2 separate regions of the Homo sapiens genome follow, and region 1 is linked to region 2. Evidence: promoter capture Hi-C in human tissues and cell types (Jung and others, 2019). All regions are on one chromosome and are shown on one strand. The core of a region is centred on a gene start or on the middle of the fragment in contact, and the rest is flanking DNA. Distances in the headings are between cores, read along the strand shown. Region 1 overlaps PLCE1 (phospholipase C epsilon 1). Region 2 holds the start of PLCE1 (phospholipase C epsilon 1).

Region 1 (5,387 bases), core at 1,400-3,899, 320 kb before region 2:
ATTAGGAAGACTCTACCACAAGCCAGGTGAGAATGAACCAGGGCCAAGGCAATAAAGACAGATCAAGATGAATGGATTTGAAAGATACTAAGGAAATAGAATGATCAAGTCTTAAATGGGGCAGAAGGCCAGGATGATCTACAGTTATTGGCTTCAGCAATGGAGAGTGATGCTCTCCATGGTCAAATGCACATTTACCAAGCACATATCCATATATGGCTGCCCAGGAAGCCCAAGGATGGCAAGGTGTGATATAACAAAAAATACATATTTGGTCTTTGTCCCCAGTTTCTGCCACACAGCTCCTAAAACCTTTGAAATCTCTGGAGTGATAAGAGTGTCCTTTGTTGCTAATGAGATGATTGGTGGCTGAGAAAGACCAAGGCATGATTAGAAGGGTGAAACCTTCAGCCCTGCTGCCAGACCTCAAGGAGGGGAGGGGGCTGAAGACTGAACTGATCACCAGTGGCCAATAATTGAACCAATCATGCCCAGGTCATGAAACCTCCATAAAAACCCTAAATGATGGGGTTCCGAGAGCTTCCAGGTTGGTGAACACATCGAGGTTCTGGGAGGGTGGCCTGGAGAGGACATGGAAGCTCTGCACTCCTCCTCCCATACCTTGTTCCATGCATCCTTCCATGAGGCTGCTCCTGAAGTACATCTGTTCTGATCAACTGGTGATAATAAGCAAAGCACTCTTGTGAGTTCTGTGTCATTCTAGCAAACTCTTGAATCTGAGGATTTATATGGATCCCCTGAATTTATAGCTGTTTGGTCAGAAGTCCTGGTGACAACCTGGGACTTCTGACTGGCATCTGAAGTAGGAGTAGTCTTGTGGGACTGAGCCCTCAATGTGTGGGATCTGACACCAACTCTAGATGGATAGTGTTAGAATTGAACTGAAATGTAGGACACCCAGCTGTTGCCAGAGAGTTGGAAAAGACACCATGTTTTTGGTGTCAGAAGTGTCGTGAGTAAAAACAGTTCATTTGTGGCATCTGTGGAATCTTCAGCTGTAACAGATATCGAGGTCACCCAGCTCAGAATTGGGTATTTGGCCCTGCTCTGCCTTTCTGAAAGCATGTGATTCCTGCTCTTTGTACCACGCGGCCCTGCCCTTGCTTGTCAATCCTCTGCACAAGGTGGAAGCCACACCTCCCTCCACTTTGGCCAAAGTGCTCTTCTAAACCTTGGACACATGGTGCAATCGCCTGATGATCCTTAAAAAAACTGATGCCTGGGGCCCACCTGCAGAGACTCTGGTTTAATTGGTGCGGGGTGTGGCCTGTGCACATGGAGTTTTTAAAGCTCCCCAGGTGATACAAATGTACAGTGAAGGTTGCTGTGGAGTGATGAAGGGAAAAAGGAGGAACACCTAAGCAAACAAGGGCAGGGACAGCGGGAGTCAAAACTGATAGTGGTGAGGGCAGGAGAAGGGCAGAAAAGAAAGCAGAAAGTGGCAGTGGAAGCCATCATGGCCAGTGCCATTGTGAGCGCAGAAGGTGCCTTTCCAAAGATTGTTAGGACTACGTTGAGTCTGAGATTGACACAGAAGTAATCACATTATTAAACATGTAAAGGGGGTAACCAATGGATACACTTTTAAAATGTATGTTTAAAGAGGAAGCATAATGGAATTAGCCAGTTAATTAAAGTAGTTGTTTTAAAAATACCTTTTTTAGAGACAGGATCTCATTCTTTGTCCATGCTGGAGTGCAGTGGTGTGATCATAGCTCACTGTAGCCTCAAACTCCTGGACTCAAGCAGTCCTTCTGCCTCAGCCTCCCAGGTAGCTGGGACTATAGGTGCTCGACACTATGCTCAATTAAAACACGTTTTTTAATAGAGATGGGGTCTTGCCCAAGCTGATCTTGAACTCCTGGACTCAAGCTATCCTTCTGCCTTGGCCTCCCAAAGTGTTGGGATTAGAGGCATGAGCCGCTGCACTCAGCCCAGATTCTTACCTAATTAAACCATCCTGCATTAGTGAGGGGGCCATGGTCCAAGTGTCCTCAAACTTTAGTGGGCACTGAGTTTCCATGAGGCACTTGTTAAAAAGCAGATTCTGGCCAGGTGCGGTAGCTCATGCCTGTAATCCCAGCACCTTGGGAGGCCACCTTGGGAGGCCAAGGCATGAGGATCGCTTGAGTCCAGGAGTTTAAAACCAACCTGGGCAATATAGTGAGACCCCATCTCTATAGAAAAACATTATCTGGGCATAGTGGCACACACCTGTAGTCCCATCTACTCAGGAGGCTGAGGTGGGAGAATTGCTTGAGCCAGGAAGGTCGAGGCTGCAGTGAGCCAGGATGGCACCACTGCACTCCAACCTGGGTGACAGAGTGACACTGGGTGACAGAGACACACTGTCTCTGGAAAAAAAAAAAAGCAGATTCTGCAACTATGGCACTTTCTACAGTGTCCTTCTTCCATTCTCAAGGGAGCAGCTTCTGCATCTGCCAAGCACTGAGGTGCAAGTTATGCATCGCCAGCAGAGCCTATTGCTCACTCCAGCCTTGCTCTGCCTGTGACATTTGCCCCTGGACTGCTGAAGAAACAAAATATTTTCCTGGTTTAACCTAAAGTTTCTAGAAGTATTGGAAATGCTTCCTACTAGGCTTCGCATAATAAGCCTCTTCCTCACTTTGTTATATTTGGCTTACTTCCCTGATAGACACTGTAATATATGGGCTTTGTTACTGGAACTTGGGTGTAAATCCTGGACTGCTGCTTGCTAGCTGTGTGACCTCAGATGTACTTAGCTCTACCTTTCTCATCTGCAAAATGGAGATGATACTAAATAGCTACTGCCTGACGTTATTGAGAGGACTGAGTTAGTATATACGTAAAGTGCTTAGTCAGTGCCAAGTGTCAGCCATTATTGTTATTAATTTCCATAGCTACCTAATTAATAACTCACACCGACCACTTTGCTGGGCCACAAAAAAGCCCACCTTCAGTGTAGCAATCCCCATAAATATGTTGAGTGAAACAGAACTTCATTACCGAAGAGGCTGACATGGTATTGCCAGAGGAATTTTCTTCCATCCTTCTGCTGTTAATGAATAAACTAGAAATCTCCAAGACTTCATTGTGAAGGTTTCGCAGCTGAAGATGTCGATATCCTGGAGTAATACAGAATTGGGAAAAGCTTGTTAACCATGGCTACTGAAAAGAAGATGCTCCTGGAAGTCGGCAAATGACAGGTAGAAAGACCTTAAAATGGGCAGGGATGGCAACAGGCATGCAACCAACAGGCGTCTTTTCGCCAAGAGAGTGCTGCCCCCTGAGTTACCCAATGGCAATTAATTTGTCCAAGTACTGTTTCCAACTTAGACTCAAACAGAAAACCTTAAACTCAGACAAAACCTGATCTAGTAGGAAAACCTGATCACTAACAGTCCCTGTGAATGAAGCACTAACAGACTAACAGTCCCTGTTTTACAAATGTTCCATCTTAGAGCAGCTTTAGTGATAATAGAACATTCCCACAATGGAAGATTGGTTATAATTTATGGTATGACTGTAAGTGTAAGTATAGAATGGAATAATACACAGCTGGTAAAAATGGTAATGTACATGTATAGTTATTAACATGAAAGGTTGCTCACTGTATACATTAGTAAGTGAAAACCAGTAAGTTACAAAACACAAAGATTAGTAGAAAGCCTGTTTGTTAAAAATATATCTGTATGCTCATGTGTTACGTACATGGGGAGAGAAACAAAGCCTGCAAGACTTATACACCAAGAGTGACTGTGTTGGAGAGATGGAAAAATGGATAATTAAAAAAAAATTGTTTTTGTTTCTATGTACTTTCTCACATTTCTATAATAACAGTTATGGGTCTCCCCCGACCCTATACTCCCCATTCTTGTGTAGAAGTCCTAACCCTCAGTACCTCAGAATGTGACTATATTTGAAGAGAGGGTCTTTAAAGAGGTAACTAAGTTAAAATGGGGTCCTTAGGGTGGGCCTTAATCCAGTGGGACTGGTGTCCTTATGAGAAGAGGGGATTAGGACACAGACAACATAGAGGGCTGACTGTGTGGGGACCATCTGCAAGCCAAGGAGAGAGGCCCTAGAAGAAACCAAACCTGCCAACACCCTGATCTCAGACTTCCAGCCTTCAGAACTGCGAGGAAATACATTTCTGTGGTTCAGCCACCTAGTCTGTGGTATTCCATGATGGCAGCCTGAGCAGACTAATTAAATGACCACGGGCTACTTGCACACAGAAGAGAAACAGGAAAAGATCACAAAAGTAGGAAACTGTAATGTGTTTGTGAGCTCCAAGGATGGCAGCTTGAGTGTAGCTGGGAGAGGAAGTGTGTACTTAGAATATTGGTGCTCAAAGGAGACCATCAGAGCCAGCACACCTGGAAATATGTTAGAAAGGGAAACTGTCAGTCTTCACCTGAGGCCACTGAATCACGATCTGCATGGTATTACCAGTCCTAGCAGATTCCTGTGCACATCAAAGTTTAAAAACAATGCACAGGCTGAAATTCATCAGAGTGCCACAACAAAGCCAATCTACAAGCAAATAGCTCTAGCCTTTGCCCAGAATTCTCCATTCCCCTCTTCCTGCACCTGAAACCCAGCCCCAGCTTCCAAAACTGGACTTCTGCCAGGCACCGACTCCAACTGCACGGTCACTTATGCCACCACCACACCCGACCCCTCTGACATGTTTCCTCTCCTTATTTCAATCCCTGCTTTCAAACTGCCAGCAGTGCCGTGGGTAGCAACAACCACTGCTCCTGACATCAGCAAGCATGGGTGAGGCTGTACTTTACAAGGGATATTGTTAATACCTCAGATTCTTAAAAAATGTAAAAGAAAAACTTCTTTTGAGATGTGCTTCAAAAGTGCTCCAATTTGTATTTCCTTTTGCTTCTTAATTCAACTTCTTTATAGGAAAATGTCAAACAGAAAAGAGAGAAGAGTATAAGGAAATTCTGGCATCCATCACCTAGCTACAACAATTATTAACATTTGGACAATTTTATTCTACCTCGTTTTAAAGCTTTCAGTGGAATGATTCTCTGAGCAGTTACCGCTGAACTATTGTTTTCCACAACTGCAAAACGAAGAAATACAAGATCTTCGAAGTGAACGTGGAACAGAAACTGCTCGTTCCACATGGGGTTCAGGGTGTTTCGATGGATGGGCTTTGTGCGGAAATGGCAGCTGTCCAGAGGCATGCCCAGGACGTCGACTTCAATGCACGGGCTTCCCATGCTATTACTGGGGCACACATTCTGACCAGAGACAATCTAGGGTGAGGGAGACAAAAGGGATCAAAGTCACCGAGGATAAAAAAGAAAGACAACCTCTGCACCTCACTGCTTCCCTCTGCAAAGGAATCCCAAGAACACTGG
Region 2 (5,278 bases), core at 2,630-5,129:
AAAGGGGCAAGCTAAACAATTGCTAAGCACGTCTATTACGGTGGTTGAACTATCCATGGCATTTCAAAACCTCAACTGCTAAACAATTTAGCCAGATCACTATCTGAAACTTTCTAATGAGCTGAGTTAAAGCTATTAGGTTTCACCTAACCAAAAAAAAAAAAAAAAAAAAAAAAAGGATGGTTATTTGTTTTGGGTCATGAGCCCAGAGGTTAATGTAGGATAGCACAGTGATCAAGAGAACAGACTCTGGAGACAGCCCACTTTGACTGGCTCCTGACACTGGCACTTCCTTGCTGTGACTTTATGCAAATCACTTGACCTTTCGTTGCTTCAGTTTTCCCATCTTCAAAATGGGCATAATCATGGAAGTCCACACTCCCTAATCCAAATTCTGAGCAGCCAGCCAACTGTGATTCAGAAGCTTTATGGATTTTGTAATGGTAAAAATGCATATGCCATATCTTACATAACACTTTCAATGGTATCTGCAGCAAATAAAATATGCCCATAATTTCTGAAGTAAAAATATATGTGTAGTTCTCACCAAGTGAGAAAAATAAAGACTGTCATAACCTCACGTCACTTCAGACCAAGTTTTGTAGCCAAATTTATGAAAATCACAGTTTTTAGAGCTTTTTTGATTTTGGAAATACAGCTAAAGGATAAGATCTCTCACATTGACTGAGTAATATATAAAAATTAAATGCGTTAATTGATAAAAGTTCTTGGAGTGGTGCCTGGCATGTAGTAAGCACCATAGTGTTACCAACAACAACTTCTATTATTTTCATGTAAAATTTGGAAACTTTAAAGTTATGACTAAATTTCATTTGGAAACCAGTACACTTTGGAGATTAATAGGAATTACCCCTTTGAAACAATCCTCTAGGGAAGGATTTTCTGAGATGATGAAAATGTTCTATATCTGCACTGTCCAATACAGTAGCCACTAGCTGCATGTAGCTATCAAGCACTTGAAATATGGGTGGTTAATTTCATTTAACTAATTTCAATTCAAATGTAAATAGCCATATGTGGCTAGTGACTACCATGTTGGACAATGTAGCCTCCGAGGGCTTGGTTCCCAATCTGGCCCACGAAAATCTATTTAAGCCATAACACAGATGAATTATAGCCTCGGTAAAAACCCTGCATTCTGCATCCAGGGAGCAGAGAGGAACACATGATGCTAGAGAGAGTTCTGCCCTTCTTTGTAGGCCACATGGTTGGCCTATAACAAAATGCATCTTTGATATCGTCTTCCTCTCTTTCTCCATTCCCTACTCCTCCATCTCCAACTCTCCTCTTTGGGCCTTACATAACTAAATCACATGCTTCCCTAAAACCCTATCAGAACCTTCCACCCCTCTTCCAGAAGCACCATGTTTCCTAATCACCTGTCTTCCCTCGCCTCAACCAAACCCCTACTTGCTCAATGCCACAGATCTCAACTGAACGTTGGGAGGAAAGCAACTTCAGCAAACAAATTCACACTCTTAGCTGCTTCTACTGTTTTTGGCTTTTCCTCTGCTTCTCCTTCTGAACCCAGAAGCTCTGTTTTATTGTTCTTCCACCGCAGAAGTAGTTCCGGCAGAGAGAGAAGGCATTAAGACTAAAGCAACTGTCCTATATAGGCGCCTGTCAGCCAGGTGTGTGGAACACACACGCGCGCGCACACACACACACACACACGTGCAGCAAGCCTCACTCTGTGCAAATCCCTCCTCTTGCCCAGGCATGGGAAACGTCCCCTGCTGTCTACTTTAGAAAACTCTTCCACCATGCACAGTATTTTTTCAATCTTCTTTTATTCATTTAGAAAGTTACAGGTAACAAATTGCACATCAAACAGTTTTTTTAAAGTATACAACAAAAGCCCAGAGAAGAATGTGACTAAGAATGGTTGTAAATAGAAAAACAAAACCAACCGCCTTCATTGGAATCTAGCTTCTAACCCACTGGAGTATGGAATTTTTAATGACAGGTCAAACTTGGACCACATCCCAGGAGTTTATGTTACTAAGAGGACTGGAAGAATGTCCCTCCAGTTCAATCTGGCTTCTTACCTGGTAAGACATGGCTCCTGGGTATAAAGGGAATTTCCCCCATGGGGCTGTAAATAAAGGATAGTGTTAATGGTAAACATTATACATTCCTCTAGCTCCTTTCAATTATATTATCTCCTTCTCCAAAGTAGATATTTATGTTGTAAAACCAAAGTCTTAAGATTTAATACTGGCCCACAATTATCTCTAGAGTCTTCTAGGTGCAAGCATTTTGCCATGAAAGCCACAGCAAATGCCTTCAGTAGGGAAAATGAGACATCTACATAAATAACTCCCAGAAGGTAGAGAGCAGAAAGGGCCCTGGAGAAAAAATGCTGCAGAAATCAGAGCAGGGGGAGGTTGGCTGTTTCAGGAAAAGCCTCACACCACCAGCAAAACACAGTTTGAAGGATGGTTAGACTTTAGAGTGGTGGATGTGGGGGAAGATGTGCCATCAGATGGTCTAGATGACAACACCATCAGACATTCTTCAGAAAAGTATTTATGAAGACATCGATGCATACAATAACCTAGAGATAGTCCACCTCTCTCCTCAATGACAACTGGGCACCTGTACAAGCACCTATGGGGTCACCTGCTTCCACCTCCCAAGTCAGGCTCTCAAAAATTCTCCCTAGTGGGGTCAAGCATTCTTGGCCTCAGTAGTGCCCATTCTGTGGCAGCGGCCCTGCCCTACCTCTACGGGGGGTATAAGAAACATGAAAACATACCAATCCTGCAGAGATCTAAAAGACCTACGGGCAAATTTTGCATAATGCAACTGAAATTATGACCTTCGTGCAAATAAAACTTTTCGAAGACGTGAATCCTACTTAACAGGTATTCAGGGAACTCACTATTTAAAATGACACTGATTAATCACTAAATGAGTCTTACACTGAATAATTGGTTAAGTCGGCTGAACTCAGTGTCTGATGGCTTAAATACAGAGCGAGGGGCGAAAGCTTCCACAAATTTACGCTGTGCACCTAACATTCGCCACGACAGAAGACTTCTTGCTCTAGTGTATTTATTACTGTAGCATTAAAGGACTTGAAGGCAAAGCTAGCTATTCTAGTTATCAGTTAGAGCGGGACCTGGTCCAATATTGTATTTTCTAGGACTTGATGTACACAAATCTCTCCAGGAACAATCTCTTGAGCACTTTCCTTGAAATACCGCTGCTAAGTACCGCCACAAAAAGAGCTTACGTTTTTCTTTGCACTGGCCACCTCCACACCGTATTCACAACACGAAGGGGCGACCTGAGGCAGGCGTCTGGAGTGAAGGCACTGGCAGGGTGTCCTTTAGCCCCTGCGAGGGCGGCCTGCATGCCCTGGAGGACCGCCCGCCTCGGGTCCCCCGGGAGCGCGAGGACACTTTTCCGCCAGGTACGCGGAGTCGGGCTGCTCCCTTAGGCGGGTCGACTGCCTTGGGAGAGAACCAGCCCATCCTTCCCTTTCTCCAGTCCTCAGGAACCGAGCTACAGAGTCGCTTCCTCACCTCTTGGCTCCTGGCGAGTCTCGCCGGCGTCCCCAAGCGCAGCGTCCCTCTGGGACCAGCCGTCCGCGCGCCTGTCGCTAGCGGCGTCGGGTGTCCCCGCTACTGTGTGTCAGCTGCAGAGCCGATGCCCAGGAACGCGCAGGAGCCAGGCAAGTGCCCGAGAGGCAGAGCCCGGGAGGCAGAGCCCGGGAGGTAGAGCCCGGGCGCGCCGCCGCTGCCCCTCCCGCCGCGCGAGCCCGCCGCCCGCCGCGTTGCCCACGTTGCCCAGCGTTACCGTGTGGACCCGCGCCGTTCACAGTCCGCTCCCGCCGAGATGTGCGCGCTGCCCGGACAGCGGCGGCTGCGCGGGCGGCAGCGGGGCCCCCGCCCTGGGCCGGGCTTTCCCAGAACTCGCCCGCCCCGGGTGAGAGGCCGCTAGCGCCACCGCGGGCGGCCGGGCGGGGGAGCGGCCTGTGCCGGGCCCGCCCCCGGCTCCTGCCGCGCGGGGAAGGCGGGCGCGGAGCGAGGACCCGGCCGCCTCCCCCGGAGCTGGCTGCTGGCGGCGCGACCCCTTCCCAGACCCCTGGCCCTGACCCCTAGGAGCCATCCTTTCTGGCGGGAGCCAGAGAGAGCGCTCCTGGGGCGCCCGGCTCCGGGAAGGGCGGGAACTCTGCACACCTCAGGCGGCGGGAATTTACTCTCACACTACCCCAGGGAACCACCCCTGGTTGACAGATATGGAAACTGAGGTTCACGGCAGATAAAGGACACGATCAAGGTCTCTGTAGTAGATGGCAGCACCAAGTCTCGAATCTGTTCTGTCACTCGTTCATTTAATACATATTCATTGAGCCCCATCAATGTGCCCAGCGTTGTGCCAGGCTCCGGAAATACTCCTTTTGCTGGTAATGGTGGCCATCCAGGACTGCGGACTCCAAATCCAGTACTCTTTCATTGCTCAAGCAAACCTGAAGATCTTCACAACTAGAAACTACAGGCTTTGCACAGAACTTCCTTAGCCGCTGGAGCGGCTTTTATGAGTCTTAGGAGAGCCAAGGACCTGGAAAAAAAAATCAAATCATCATCCTCCTCCCTTTCGCCTAAACCTGTGCCTCCTCCCTCTACCTGTTCTAATGGAAGACCGTTCCCTAGGCCTGACCTCTTCTCCTACATCCGATCAGGACCCATTCCTGTGGCCCATATCGCCTCCCACTGTCCTCTCCCTTGGACCAAATCAATCCTTCAAACCACCGCTGTATTATTCTTCCTTTTTTACAACTTTAATCTATGCAGAAAACTTCACTGGCTCCCTATTGCCCTCCAAACTAACTCTCCATGGCTGTGTAACCCAGCATGCCCTGGCTAATAAGGATCACCCAACAGAATGTCTCTCCCACTCTAGCTCTGTACCTGAACTTAAGCTGAGCCTTCTACCTGGAGCATCTCCTCCCACACACTTTCCTCCTGCTCATGTTTGACCCTTTCTTTCGGGTCCCTCTTAAAAGTGATCTCTCCTTCTTGGAGGCTCCAGAACACAGGAGAGGTTGGAGCAAGAAAGCACAGGAGGCCCAAAGAATCCTGCTGTTAAGAAAAATCTGCCAGTCTGGTCCTTAAACTGTCTTGCTGTTTTCTCACCACTAGGACTTTAATGAAAACTAACATGATTGCCTCCCTGGAGAGCTGATTTCAGAAAGGTCTCTGCAGAGGGCTCTAAAGAAATTCTTTGTTCCTTAAGATCTTGGCATTTT

Evidence for each region. Contacts are between HindIII fragments. The study calls those that stand out against the background at their distance.
Region 1: a fragment that was not itself captured here is called in contact with the fragment with the promoter of PLCE1 in region 2 in 1 of the 25 tissues and cell types used here (mesenchymal stem cells).

The regions. Positions count from the first base shown.
Region 1 is chr10:94,306,322-94,311,708 of GRCh38, reverse strand. It overlaps PLCE1 (phospholipase C epsilon 1), which reads right to left. Exons shown (of 33, transcript NM_016341.4): 26 at 5,021-5,282; 27 at 3,010-3,128. Among named protein-coding and RNA genes, the nearest start is that of PLCE1-AS1, 22 kb to the right of the region's middle. The HindIII fragment of the contact is 5,549 bases long and covers 1-5,387 here.
Region 2 is chr10:93,992,532-93,997,809 of GRCh38, reverse strand. It overlaps PLCE1 (phospholipase C epsilon 1), which reads right to left and starts at 3,879. Exons shown (of 33, transcript NM_016341.4): 1 at 3,552-3,879. LOC105378438 (a long non-coding RNA gene) reads right to left here. Exons shown (of 4, transcript XR_946215.2): 4 at 4,091-4,590. RefSeq lists a silencer at 3,776-4,065. The HindIII fragment of the contact is 15,571 bases long and covers 1,720-5,278 here.